3 separate regions of the Homo sapiens genome follow, and all the other regions are linked to region 2. Evidence: promoter capture Hi-C in human tissues and cell types (Jung and others, 2019). All regions are on one chromosome and are shown on one strand. Each heading gives the region's core, a stretch centred on a gene start or on the middle of the fragment in contact. The rest is flanking DNA. Distances are from core to core; before and after follow the strand shown. Region 1 overlaps CSNK1A1 (casein kinase 1 alpha 1). Region 2 holds the start of SLC26A2 (solute carrier family 26 member 2). Region 3 holds the start of LOC105378224 (a long non-coding RNA gene).

Region 1 (2,700 bases), core at 172-2,671, 440 kb before region 2:
TCTACCCAGTAGTATCTGTTAGGATTCTATTTTTTATTTGTCCCCATTTTCCCCAGAGCTTTTATTATCATGAATACACAGATTCTAAATTGTACTCTTCTACCTTGACAAATGTCTTCTGAAGCCAAACTAGTAATCTCTGGCTTGAACAACTTACACCTGTTACCTGTCAACCACAGAGCAAGACTTAGGTGTCAACTACCTTAAATGAAAGCTTTCTTGTATCTCCCTTCCTCAGAATTATATTTTTTCACATTTGTTACCCGTGTACCCAACAGAGACTTCTACAACTCTACAACAAGGATGGAACATCTTATTTTTCCATCTTTCTTTATTAGACTCTAAGTTTCTTTCTAGAGGGAAGAGACTAATTCTTATTTTTTTGCCACCCCAACCCCCAGCACTAAGTACAGTGGTAGGCTCTCAATACATGTTCAATGTATGGATGCTTACGTGTTACTGAACAAACAAAAACATAAGCCATAACTCTTTTATTAGGATTCACTCATATATGTTAGTTAAAACATATTAAAGGCTTTTTTTTTTTTTGAGACAGAGTCTCGTTCTATCCCCCAGGCTGGAGTGCAGTGGTGCGATCTCGGCTCACTGCAATCTCCACCTCCTGGGTTCATGTGATTCTCATGCCTCAGCCTCCCGGGTAGCTGGGATTACAGGTGTCAGCCACCACGCCTGGCTAATTTTTGTACTTTTAGTAGAGATGGGTTTCACTATGTTGGCCAGGCTGGTCTCGAACTCCTGACCTCAGGTGATTTACCGGCCTTGGCCTCTCAAAAGTGCTGGGACTGTAGGCATGAGCCACCAAACCCAGCCCACATTAAAGGCTGTTAACATAAAAGAGATGGGGTCTTTGCTCTATTGCTCAGGCTGGAGTGCAGTGGCATTATTATAGCTCACTGTAGCCTGGAACTCCTGGGCTCAAGAGATCCTCGTGTCTTGGTCTCCCAAAGTGCTGGATTACAGGCGTGAGCCAGTGTGCCGCGCCACTTTTAACCTTTTAATGCTTGAGTTTGTTTTGTGCCACAAATATCACAATTTGCTCACATTTGCTTGAGCCACTGAGTACTTTTAAGGTTAAGAAGCTTGGGGAGTATCAGGTGCTGATTACAGAAAATGGGCACTACTTTCTAATCCTTGGAATTATAGACAAAGTTTTTTCATTGATCTATAATAGTTGTATATATTTATGGGGTATGTGTGATATTTTGTTACATGTATACAATGTGTAATTATCAAATCAGGGTAGTTGGGATATCCATTACTTCAAACATTTATATTTTGTGTTAGGAACATTACAATTCTACTCTTCTAGCTATTTTGAAATAAACGATAAGCTATTGTTAACTATAATTTCCCTACTATACTATGTAATACTAGAACTTATTCCTCCTAACTGTATTTTTGTGCCCATTAACCTACTTCTCTTCATCCCTCTGAATTTACAAACTTACTAAAATTCCACCTCAAATACCATGTCTGTTTATCTCATTTTACTTTATGACATTTACTTGAAAGAAGCTCACAGTGATGCTTTGGGTAATACATAAATAATAGTATTAAAAGGTAAGTGATAAAGTAAATAAAGGTAAGTGATAAAACAAATAACCTGTGTTCTCCTTTCCCTTTTCCTCATTTTATTTTCTTCTGTTATTTTCCCTCTTCCTTTTTATGTGATAGGCAAATCTGGACTAGAGAGCTGTCACAAACCCTCCATTATATTTTTAAATGTCATTCTCTTCATAGTATTTTTATAAGCACACTGAGTTTAACTTAAAGCATTTCCAGCATTTTCCTGCCCTTAAAGGTAACAAATACTGATCAAAACAAAAAATTATACATGTCTTGATATTTACCAATCATTACCTTAATGTATTATCTTTTCCCTTAAGGTTTGTTCCTTACTCATCTTTCTCATTTCTTAAGATCGAAATATCCAAACTTTGGCTGTAAAAACCATTTAATCTAACCTACAGCCAATGCATCAATCTAATTCATGACATCACCAAAATTTCCTAGGTCTTAAGTAACACAAATGGTTGAGAATCCATTACTCCAAGCAGCATCTACTTGGTCAAAAAATTCTTCCTTATATTACTTCAGGACCTTTTTATCCTCAAAAATATAGCTTTTCTAAGAGTCCCACACATAATACATAATATTCAATTTTGCTTAATTTAACCAAAATGTCAATAAACATTTATCAACAATTATATGCATACATACACTCTAAACTCTCCAAACAAAATCTTACAATAACCTGCTACATATGACACTAAAACTTCATCTGAAGGAGCAGATTGAAAACTACTAGTCTACAGATGAGTAAGAAACCAAGATAATTCCAGGTTTTGTCTTATTCCCATAGGAAAATATCTACAAGTCACATTATTATTTTTTTTCTGCCTATGCTAAGGTTAAATAGTGATGCACAGGATTTTAATACTCTGATTTATGAATAATGAAATTCCAGTCAACAGTACTAGTCTCAGTTTATATTCTAATCAAAATTTCACATACCTGGTCAGCTAACATAAGTACAGTTTTCATTGTGAACCTTCTTGAACAGAAATTGAAGAGGTCTTCGAGGCTAGGTCCCAGAAGATCCATGACTAGTACATTGTAGTCTTTTTCCTGACCATACCACCTAACGAAACAAAAGGAGAAGAGAGGATATTACAAAAA
Region 2 (2,700 bases), core at 138-2,637:
AGGGCTTAAACAAAGTACTTTACACTGATTGCCTTACCTGACCCTCTCCAGGACTCTGGGTGCTAGGGCATTAACTACCCTTTGAAAGGTGAAAACATTGATGCCCATTGAGGTGAAATGATTTGTCTTCAGCCACAAGGGGCAGCATCAGGAGTAGAACCCAAGTGTTTGTGTTCTGATTCCCAAGACAGCTTATGACGTTTTGGAAACTCTGAATCTGATGGGTGACAGAAACTTGGGGATCATCTCTAGATAAGAAAGGGAGTTCCTTGAATGACTGTGAAGACGTTCACCGGAAAGGGAAGGAAAGGAAGTTAATCATGCTTCCTTCACAGGCCCTCCTTCACCCCCATCTAGTGGGCACATGCAAGCTACAAACAAGGTGAGGAATGAACAAATTAATACATACTCAATAGTGGCCAGTTCGAGGCAGATAATTAAATCAAGATGACCTGAAAGGATGTGACTGGCTGTGGCTAGTTTACACAGGGTGGTCAGGGACGGCCTCGCCATGGAGAGGGCTGGTGTTTTGGCTGAGACCTGAGAGACCAGAAGAAATCTGATGGCCAGAACCAATGTTTAGGTCCCTAAAGAGAACAAGCGTGGCGAGCAAAGGGGGCCAGTATGGGTGGAGATCAGCGAGGGAGGGGGGCAGAGATGAGTGCCCGAAGCACACAGTACCTTGGCATAGGGAGGGTTTGATTTTACCTACAAATGCCATTAAACCCACTAAGGATTTTAACAAAAACTACAATTACATTTTAATTTACATTTTATGTTTTATAGAGACAAGGTTCGGCTATACTGCCCAGGTTGATCTCGAACCCCTGGGTTCAAGCGATCCTCCCTACTCGGTCCCCCAAAGTGCTGGGATTACAAGCGTGAGCCGCTGCGCCCGGCCTTTTAATTTACATTTTAGCCTTCCGGTTACTGGAATCTTTGATGGGGAATGAGTTATAGTGAGGCAAGAGCCTCTAACATTCTAGGAGCTCTTTTCCCGTTCGGGGCCTCAATTTCCCGTTCTACAAAGGCGGGTGGGAGGGAACGGGGTCCCAAGTAGTACTGGATAAAGAGGTGGCCGATCGCAAACGCTGAGCACTTCAAAACTCTGGGCAGAGCGCTTCCGCGCCTCTCCTGCTATTTCACCCTGGCCACAGGCTAGCCGCCGAGGCCGGTCATCCGCTCTCTCCGCGGAGGAGTCAACGCCACGGAAGCAGCGGCGGAACCTCTCTAAGAATCCTTCCAGCTTGTGCTCTTCTGTCCAGGGCAGCCAATCGCGAGGAGGAGAGTAGTCAGAGGGCGGCACCCTCCCCGGTCTGGGCCGAGTTATTGGCTGGTGGTAGCGTCGCTCGCCCGGCAGTACCACGTGACGGCCTCGGCCGCGGGCGTTTACACTGGCTCTGCCTCCGGCATCTCTTCGCCGGTGCGTCCTCGCCGCGCCCGTAGGTCCCGGCAGCCGGGCCCCGCCTCCTTCGGAGTCCGAGCGATGGGCGGGGAAAGGGACAGGCAGGTATAGCTCTGTCGGCGCCGCGGTGTCCACCTCAGTCAGGCCACGGTGGAAGACGCGTGCCGCGGCGCCTGGTTGCCTGCAGCGGCCCGGACCCGAGAGGTGAGAAGAGGGAAGCGGACCAGGGAAGAGGGAGGGAGCGGTGCTGGCCGCCAAGCGGTCAGCGGGCCCCTCCCAGAGTCATTCTGCCTGGGTCCCCGCGCGGTAGAATCCCAGATCAGGGGTCGCCGCCGTGGAGCGGGGCGTGCGTCAGGTTATTTCCCGGGTGGTCCGGGGCCGGGCGAGTGGCACTGCACCCTGGTGATCCGGGCCTGCCCGTCTGGCTGGCGGCTGCCCACCCGCCCTCCATCCCGCGTATCTCGCCGTATCTCGCCGGGTGCCACGCACTCCGCTGCTTTTCCAGTCCTCGTTGATCCGTCTCGAACCTAGATATCTGGAATAGGGATCGAGGAGATAGGAGCCACCACCACCTCGGACAGATGGGGAAACTGAGGCCGGCACAGGCGAGACGGCTTGGTTATCTTGGTTATTAAAAATCACACACCCGATTAAGTACAAAATCAGGACCTGTTCTTTCGGACTCACACACTAAGTTGGTATTATTTCACTGGATGGATGGAAACACTGAGAAGACAGAGAGGGCCCAGAGCCTTGCCTAAAAATACACAGCAAGTCTTTTGCAGAGCTAGGACTTGTACCCAGCTCTCCAAACTCATAGACTATCAGCCTGGGCTCCTTCCTTGCACAGATTGGGGATCACAGTGAGTTAGAAACATTCAGAACTTAAATTGCCTTCCGGCGCCCATTCTAGTTAACCTGTCTTTTCTCCTTGTCCCCAACAGTTCTTTATGTGAAATCTACAACTAATGTGATATGCAATACTAGATTAAGCAGAACTTTTTGTTTTTGAAAATTGAATCAATAAGAAATGGAGGGCCAAAGCTGTGGGAAAGGAATGGACCCTTTAAAATCAGGAATCTCAAGGCAGGATATAGCAAGGGACAGAGACTAATAGCTGTCGTTTATTGAGTAAATGCTATGTGCCAGGCACTGTGGTAGGTAGTTGTGTTAGCCTTACAAACCAGCAAGTTAGGTAATGTTACCCCATTTTACAGGTCAGAAATTGATGCTGAGTACAGTGAAGTTTTACAAAACCATTGCCATATGACTGCTGAGCAGTATAGCTGGGATCT
Region 3 (2,700 bases), core at 44-2,543, 260 kb before region 2:
TGGGGCTGACTTTTGTTCTCCTGGTCATAAAAGACCTTTGAATTGCTTGGCCACTTTGGGTTTCTCAGGAAAAGTGATAACACTAAGCCAAAGTTCATCCCAGTTGGCCAGGCTGCCTCTCTCCAGCACCCACAAGGCTGGAGGGAGAGAGGGAATGACCACCGTCCCATGAGTGTTGGGCTGGGTTCACTGGGGTTAGGGTCACCAAGGGTAGGAGCCATTTCCCCATTGACCCACCTATGCATCACACCACAGAAATATCCCGGTGCTCTGTTTATCTCCCACCCCTCCCCCGACACAGCGGAAGGACGTAAGTTTTCACGCATAGTGGACAGAGGACTTAGACCGAATGAGGTGAGGCTTGGTCAGCCCTGATATGAGAAACACAGATCAAAACCAGACTTATCCCTCTGCTATCATCACCCAGCCACCCAACACCACTTCCCAGAATGACTCAATCGACATTTCCTGTACCCGAGCCTGGGATCTCCATTTTATTAAGCTTTCCGGAAGATGTTATCATCTAGCAAGTTTTTGAAGGAAGCATAGGACTATGCCTATCCCAGTGGTGTCTGCCCAGGTCTCCTCTGTGCTCAAACACCATGCAAGGCTTCCTCACTCCAGCCGGAAGCCTCAGCGCTTAGTGTGGTATTCTAGGCTTCAGTTCACCTGTACAGACCATCTCCCAGCTCTCCCTCACTCACTACCCACTGCAGCTACTCTGGGGTTCCTGGTGCTTGAATATGCTGTGGGCCTTTAGGAAGAGCAACCTTGCTCTTGTTATGCTGTTAACTTAATGAAATCCTCTCCAACATTTAAGGCCCAGCTCTGATGCTCCAACTCTAGAAGCCTCCCTTGATCCAGCCCTATCTAGAAGTGACCCCCTCAACTTTCCTCTGAGCTCCAATAGACTCTCCTCGTCTGGGCCCGCACGTAACTCTGGTCACTTTCCACCTTATTTTACAGATGTTGGTTGGCCTCATCTCCCCAAGCTGTCTAGAAGCTGCTTAAGGGCAGGCCCCACAACTGGTTGGTTCATCTCTATGTCCGCAGTGCAAAACGTCGCATCTCTTAAGGCAATTAGTAAGTGTGCTGTAATGAATTAATTCATGTCCACCATGACAAAGAGATACTGGTCCGAAACGTGAATTAAGTAGAGATAGCTTTATCTCTTCCTTTCCATTCTGGGTGCCTTTTATTTTATTTTCTTGCCTAATTGCCCCGGCAGGAAACTCAAGTACAATGTTGAATAGAAAAGGGGGGAATAGGTATCATCTTGTTCCTGGTCTTGGGGGAAGCACTTGGTCTTTCACCATTGAGTATGATTTAGTTGTGGGCTTTTTATAGATGCCCTCTACTAGGTTAAGGATATTCCCTTCTATTCCTATTTTGTTGAGTTTTATTATTATTATTATGAAGAAGTGTTGAATTTTGTCAAATGCTTTTTCCGCGTCTATTGAAATGATCATGTGGTTTTTGTCCTTTATTGTATTGACAAAGTGTATTACATTAATTGACATTTCAGATGTTAATCTTGCATTTCTGGGACATTTACCAGTTGGTCATGGTGTCTAATTCTTCTGATAAATTGCTGTGTTCTGCTTACTAGTATTTTGTTGAGATTTTTCTGTCTACATTCATAAATGAAATTGATCTGTGCTTTTTGTGTGATGTTTTGGTCTGATTTTTGTATCATAGTAATACTGGCTTCACAGGATAAGGTGGGAAGTGTTTCCTCCTCTTCTATTTTTTGGAAGTTTGTGAGGAATTCTTCAAAAATTTGGTAGAATGTACTAGTGAATTCTGGTCCTGGTCTTTTCTCTGTGGGTAGTTTTTTGATTACTAATTCCGTCTTTTTACTTGTTTCAAGTCATTCAGATGTTCTATTTCTTCCTGAAACAGTTTTACTACTTTATGGCTTTCCAGGAATTTGTCCATTTCATGTAAATTATCTAACTTGTTGGCATACAGTTGTTTATAGTAATCCTTTATAATCCATTTTATTTATATAAGGTCTGTAATAATCCCCCCTTTTTCATTCCTGATTTTAACAATTTGAATCTTCTCTCTTTTTTTCTTGATCCATCTAGATTAAGGTTTGTCAATTTTGTTAATCTTGTTGAATAACCAACTTTTAATTTCCTTGATTTTCTTGATATTTTTCTATCATCTATTTCATTAATTTTGGCTCTAAACTTTATTATTTCATTTCTTCTGCTTGTTCTAGGTTTAGTTTACTCTGCTTTTTTTCCAGTCTTAAGATTATTGATTAGAGATCTTTCTTCTTTTTTGTAATGTAGGTGTAAATTTCCCTCTAAGCACTGATTTGGCTGTATCCCAAGTGTTTTGATATATTTTGTCTTCATTTTTATTCATTGAAAAGATTTTCCTAATTTGCCTTGGAATTTTTTTTAATTCAATGATTCTTTAGGAGTGTGTTGTTTAATTTCCACATATTTGTGAATTTCCCAAATTTATTTCTGTCATTGATTTCTAATTTCACTCCATTGTTATTAGAGAACATACTATATATGATTTCAATCCTTTCAAATTTATTCAAATTTGTTTTATGACCTAGTATATGGTCTATCCTAGAGAAAGTTTCATGTACATTAGATGAGAATGTATACTATACTTTTGTTGATTGGAGTGGTCTGTAGATGTTTTTGAGGTCTAGCAGGTTTATAGTGGTGTTCAAAA

The links. The method cuts DNA at HindIII sites, captures the fragments that hold promoters and counts their contacts. A contact is called where the count stands out against the background at its distance.
Region 1: a fragment that was not itself captured here is called in contact with the fragment with the promoter of SLC26A2 in region 2 in 1 of the 25 tissues and cell types used here (hippocampus).
Region 3: a fragment that was not itself captured here is called in contact with the fragment with the promoter of SLC26A2 in region 2 in 1 of the 25 tissues and cell types used here (mesenchymal stem cells).

What each region holds. Positions count from the first base shown.
Region 1 is chr5:149,522,510-149,525,209 of GRCh38, forward strand. It overlaps CSNK1A1 (casein kinase 1 alpha 1), which reads right to left. Exons shown (of 10, transcript NM_001892.6): 3 at 2,536-2,662. Among named protein-coding and RNA genes, the nearest start is that of CSNK1A1, 28 kb to the right of the region's middle. RefSeq lists an enhancer at 963-1,132. The HindIII fragment of the contact is 4,187 bases long and covers 1-2,700 here.
Region 2 is chr5:149,959,371-149,962,070 of GRCh38, forward strand. SLC26A2 (solute carrier family 26 member 2) reads left to right here and starts at 1,388. Exons shown (of 3, transcript NM_000112.4): 1 at 1,388-1,609. RefSeq lists enhancers at 1-407, 204-283 and a silencer at 1,324-1,443. The HindIII fragment of the contact is 6,337 bases long and covers 1-2,700 here.
Region 3 is chr5:149,702,979-149,705,678 of GRCh38, forward strand. LOC105378224 (a long non-coding RNA gene) reads left to right here and starts at 139. Exons shown (of 3, transcript XR_944405.3): 1 at 139-354; 2 at 967-1,083. The HindIII fragment of the contact is 5,156 bases long and covers 1-2,700 here.